Linked DNA regions of Homo sapiens: region 1 is linked to region 2. Evidence: promoter capture Hi-C in 16 types of primary human blood cells and fetal thymus (Javierre and others, 2016). All regions are on one chromosome and are shown on one strand. Each heading gives the region's core, a stretch centred on a gene start or on the middle of the fragment in contact. The rest is flanking DNA. Distances are from core to core; before and after follow the strand shown.

Evidence for each region. Contacts are between HindIII fragments. The CHiCAGO score rates a contact against its expected background, and 5 or more counts as called.
Region 1: a contact is called between a fragment that was not itself captured here and the fragment with the promoter of PPP1R8 in region 2, in 3 of 17 cell types (M1 macrophages, M2 macrophages and endothelial precursors). The highest score is 5.6, in M1 macrophages.

The regions. Positions count from the first base shown.
Region 1 is chr1:28,209,552-28,212,413 of GRCh38, reverse strand. DNAJC8 (DnaJ heat shock protein family (Hsp40) member C8) reads left to right here. Exons shown (of 9, transcript NM_014280.3): 4 at 1,777-1,843; 5 at 2,348-2,442. Among named protein-coding and RNA genes, the nearest start is that of DNAJC8, 22 kb to the left of the region's middle. The HindIII fragment of the contact is 1,549 bases long and covers 813-2,361 here.
Region 2 is chr1:27,829,432-27,832,131 of GRCh38, reverse strand. It overlaps PPP1R8 (protein phosphatase 1 regulatory subunit 8), which reads right to left and starts at 1,350. Exons shown (of 7, transcript NM_014110.5): 1 at 1,241-1,350. The coding sequence starts at 1,296. It overlaps LOC124903885 (a long non-coding RNA gene), which reads left to right and starts at 349. Exons shown (of 2, transcript XR_007065562.1): 1 at 349-1,383. RefSeq lists enhancers at 301-1,085, 1,043-1,212, 1,086-1,871 and a silencer at 1,343-1,422. The HindIII fragment of the contact is 9,216 bases long and covers 1-2,700 here.

The DNA of each region.
Region 1 (2,862 bases), core at 338-2,837, 380 kb before region 2:
AGTCCCAGCTACTCAGAAGGCTGAGGTGGGAGGATCACTTGAGTCCAGGAGATTGAGGCTGCAGTGAGCTGGGATAGCACCATTGCACTCCAGCCTGGATGATAGAGCAACACTCTGTCTCAAAAAAAAAAAAAAAAAAAAGAATAGAACAACGAATATTCATGTATCCACCATCTATATTGAATAGTTAATTTCATTTATATATATATATATATATATATATATATATATATATATATATATATTTATTTATTTATTGAGACGGAGTCCGGCTCTGTCACCCAGGTTGCAGTACAGTGTTGCGATCTTGGCTCACGGCAGCCTCCACCTCCTGAGTTCAAGTGATTCTCTTGCCTCAGCGTCCTGAGTAGCTGGTATTATAGATGTGTGCCACTGTGCCTGCCAAATTTTTGTATTTTTAGTAGAGACGGGGTTTCACCATGTAGGCCAGGCTGGTCTCGAACTCCTGACCTCAAGTGATCTGCCAGCCTCAGCCTTCCAAAGTGCTGGGATTACAGGCGGGAGCCACTGCTCCTGGCAGACACTGACTATATATTTAACTATATATTTTTGGCTGAATCATTGTAAATTGCAATAAACCATGATGCTTTACCCCTAAATACTTCAGCTTGTACCCTTCCCAAAAAAAGGACATTTTCTTGCATAATCACTTATCCCACCTAACAAAATAAGGGCTAATTCCCTACGATCATCTGAAACCCAGTCTAGTAGAGGTTTACAAAGTGCAGATGCCAAAGACTAACTCAGAAGGTCTGAGGGTGGAAATTAGAATGTTGTCTTTTTCAGAAGCTTCACAGGGTTGGAGCACAGGCAGAATGAGAAACTGCTTTAGATTAGGAGTTCTTTTAGGAGAGAGTTGATGTCTCATACCTGCTTTAGCCACCTTAGTGCTTAGTACAGGTTGAGTATCCCTTATCTGAAATGCTTGAGACTAGAAGTATTTCAGATTTCAGATTTTTTCAGATTTTGGAATATTTGCAGAATGCATAATGGTCGAGCATCCCTAATCCGAAAATTCAAAATGTTCCAATGAGCGTTTCCTTTGAGCATCATGTTAGCACTCAGAAAGTTTCAGATTTTGGAGCCTTTTGGATTTTGGGTGCTCAACCTGCATAAGGAACATAATAGGAACTTGATACCTTTCAGTCTCCCTCCTCCCCCAAATTATTACAACATCTTCATAGTGCTAGGCTTCCATTTGTTTTTGTTTTTGTTTTTGTTTTTGTTTTTTCCTGGAGACAGGGTCTCACTTTGTTGCCCAGGCTGGAGTGCAGTGGCACAATCTCAACCTCCCAGGCTCAAGTGATTCTCCCACGTTAGCTTCCTAAATAGCTTGGACTACAGGCGACCACCACCATGTCTGGGTAATTAAAAAATTTTTTTTTTGTAGAGACAGGGTCTTGCTATGTTGCTCAGGCTGGTCTCGAAGTCCTGGGCTTAAGTAATCCTCTCACCTCAGCCTCCCAAAGTGGTGGGATGACAGGCGTGAGCCTCTGTGCCTGGCATGTTTGGTCTCAACTTTGTGATTAAAACCTGAAATGTTTCCTAGTTGTACCTTTACCTTTTGGTGCTTGAATTTTGTTAAAGATCAGTATTTCTGGGCATTTAAAGAGATTTGTTAATTTTTTAAATGCTTTTGCTAAGAGTCTCTTTTTGCCGTAGGACCTTAGAGCTTTTGGTTGTAACGAGACAGGGCAGGCTGGAAGTTAGTAAATGTTTCCCTTATTGACAACCCCAACTTTTCTCTTATTGTAGTTATCCATCTTGGTGCATCCTGACAAAAATCAAGATGATGCTGACAGAGCACAAAAGGCTTTTGAAGGTATTTGTAAATTTACCTGCTTCTGAGTATTAGATTGTGAATGGCAGGGCCTAACTGTTCCTTGTCCTAGATCAAGCAAAGACTGTTATAGTTTTGTCTTCTGGTCACCAAGAAGCTGTGGTTTTCAGTAGAGCAGTTGCCATTTCAAAGCAGAATGTTGTTGTTTAAGAAGTAGACCTTAACTTTGCTTTGTTAAAACTTTTATATGCCAACAAAGACTGTTATTGCATAGGATCATTTTTTTTCTTTGAACATAAAGAATTTTATCACTGAATTAAATCCAGATGTAGTGTATTTAGCCTTGAGTATATATTTAATTTTTTCCAAGGCTCTTAAGGAAAGTCATTGCTATAGTTGAATGTTTTTTTTAACTTAGTTTAACGACAGTAAATAATTAAAGTAGGGAATGCTTTAGAGAGCACAAGTCCATTTACACTGCCTGAGTATAGTTCAGACTTTCAGAGGGTGTTTGCAGAAACAGTTAATTTCAATGTTTTGCATTAGCTGTGGACAAAGCTTACAAGTTGCTACTGGATCAGGAGCAAAAGAAGAGGGCCCTGGATGTAATTCAGGCAGGAAAAGAATACGTGGAACACACTGTAAGTATTTATAGTGCTGCTGTGTTTACAGGAAGTATCAGCAAGCCTTGGGCACCTTGTAGAAGGGTACATATGAACATAGTAATGCCTACTGGCACAACCTGTGGCTACTTCTGTGCTCTCTACCACTTTGCTGTGGTGGTCATGAATAGTGTGTGCCTGAAGCTGTAATTCACCCCTAAGAGAAGAACTCAGATGAGGAGTAGCTGGTACACTGCTCCTACCTCTTTCCCTACCAGTCCTGTGTTGGGGAGAAAGGGTTGTTCTCTCCCTCTCATCACATATTGCCACTTACCCCATTCTTAGAGTGGAAACGTGGAGCAGCCTGTGACTCTTGACTCTTGATTTTTATTCTTGTCCCTGTGAAGGGTTTGCAACAAGGCTTGGCAAAGGCTAGCAAGAGGATAGGCGTAAACTTTT
Region 2 (2,700 bases), core at 101-2,600:
GTCAAAGCACCTAACGGTGCCTGGTACCTACCAGATCCTAAGGAAAGGGTAGGTGATCTCAAAAACAGTGCTTTCTAACTATGTTTGCTATCTCGGCCCAAATTTGAAATCAATACAGCGAGGGATCAAAATGGATACAGAATTTGTAGACTGAAGCAACTACTACAAAAGTGCAAAGCGATCCAGAAAATAGCCACACATTTGCTTGCTTTTTGGGTTTGCTAATTTGAAGTTAGAAAAAAGAACCACCTCACTAGAACCTTTAGATTTGCACATGAAAAAACGTATCCTTGTCTAGCTAACTGAAGATTCAACACAGTCATCTCACAATCCTGCCCCAACCCCTCCTCTATGGAAAGGACAATGCACCGGACAAAAGGCCATTTTGTCCAGGAAAAAGGAGGAATGTTACATCCAAAACATACTTTCTGAATTCCTACTATGTGCCTGACTCAGGCCTAGGAGCTGGGAATACAAAGATGCAGTCTTTGCCCTTGAGGATGGCAATACAACGGGAGACAGAGACAAGCAACAAACAATACACTGCGATGAGCTACAGCAGAAAAAAACTCTTAATTCAGAAGCGTTTCCTTGTAAGGTAATTCATATTTATTCAACTTGTACCCTACTCAAAGACCAAATTAAATTATTTCATTATTCCCAAGAACTTTCGAAGGGATAAAAAGGGTTCATGCCAACCATTACTAATGCCTACTAGTGCCACAGACTGGGAGCTCCCTGAGGGCAGGGATGGCGCTAACCTACCCTCGTATTCTCTGTGGCAGACAGACAAGTGCCGCACGAGGGATGCAGCAACCACAGAGGGATGCGGGGCTTGGAGGTAGGGTTGGGGCCGGGGCTGGCTCGAGCGCGCTCGGGACGTACAGGAAGGGGCCAGATGCGATGCTCCACGAGAGCACCAGGCACTCAGTCAAGAGTTGGGCGTAAGTTCGGGCCAAGGCCTCGAAGCGCTCCGGCGACTGGCTAATCGCTCAAAGGGGCTGCCTAAGTGAGCGCCTTTGAGCCCCCAACCCCGGGTTTCTTCAGTTCCTGGGCCTGGGCTCCAGGCTCTCGGTTCTTCAACACGTCGCCCGGCCCGGTGCAGCAAACAGTTTTTCCTCAACCATTCCGGGGTTTCTGAGCCGTTCGGCTCGCAGCAGAAAAGTAAAAAAAGAGCCGCCCTTCCAGCCCAGGCTAGCTCCGGCCGGGCCACTCTAGCCCTGGCCGCCCCGCCACTCACCAGGTTGGGCAGTCGAACAGCGGGAGGCTAGAGCCGGAGTTCGCGGCTGCCGCCATCTTGCGTCTCCCCCTCCCATTTGGCGCGCCCTAAGCACGCCGGGAAACTGGAAGACCGAGAAGGGAAAAGCGGCATCCCAGCAGCCTGTGCGTACGCACGCTCACGCACGCCCGTACGGGGGGCGGTGCTTCTAGTGGGGACAGAGGAGCTTTTGGGATTTTTTTTTTTTCAGCGTTTGTGCGAGTTGGCCGTCTCTGGAAGTCTCCAGTGGTTAGGGTTTTCCTTGGCCAGGAGGTGTCAAAGGAAAAGGGGCTTTGTAGGGAGGGGAGTCAGTCTTTCCCTACGTCCTCCTGCAAACGCTTCTTGGCTCTAAAATCTTGGGACTAAGCCGTGCGCGATGGCTCACGTCTGTAATCCCAGCACTTTCGGAGGCTGAGGCGGGCGGATCACTTGAGGTCGGGAGTTTGAGACCAGCCTGACCAACATGGTGAAACCCCGTCTCTACTAAAAATACAAAAATTAGTCGAGTGTAGTGGCACATGCCTGTAATCCCAGCTACTTGGGAGGCTAAGGCAGGAGAATCGCTTGCACTCGGGAGGCAGAGGTTGCAGTGAGCCGAGATCGCGCCATTGCACTCCAGCCTGGGCAACAGAGCGAGACTCCGTCTCAAAAAAAAAAAAAAAAAAAGTAAAGAAAGAAAAAATCTGGGGACTACATCCTCCTCCAGAGTTTAGGTTAAGACCGTCAGCCTTTTGCCCTCAAAGCGGAGAAGCTAAAGGGCAAAACTCGGAGATTGGAGTGATTATTGTTTCTCTTCAGCCCTTCTCCAAAAAGTGGCACCCTACTCACTTTTTTCTAATTCACGTTTAGGCCTGTAGATTGTCAGGGAATCTGCATTAGGGGTCACCTAGTCTGTTTATGAAAACTCTGGACAAGCAGGAGCCAGGAGCAGGTCCAGTCAGAAAGCAGGGGTCCAAATCATCACTGTGCTTGGCTCAAATGGTTAATTTTTTTAAAAAGGATTTTTTGCTTTTGGTTATAGGGCAAGGAAGCATAAGGATTGCTCGCTTGCCCTAGATCACCAGCTGGTTTTAAGAGACCATTAGCAGGGCCTCTGGTTTTTTATTTTTTATTTTTTTATTGATCATTCTTGGGTGTTTCTCGCAGAGGGGGATTTGGCAGGGTCATAGGACAATAGTGGAGGGAAGGTCAGCAGATAAACAAGTGAACAAAGGTCTCTGGTTTTCCTAGGCAGAGGACCCTGTGGCCTTCCGCAGTGTTTGTGTCCCTGGGTACTTGAGATTAGGGAGTGGTGATGACTCTTAATGAGCATGCTGCCTTCAAGCATCTGTTTAACAAAGCACATCTTGCACTGCCCTTTATCCATTTAACCCTGAGTGGAGAGAGCACAGGGTTGGGGGTAAGGTCATAGATCAACAGGATCCCAAGGCAGAAGAATTTTT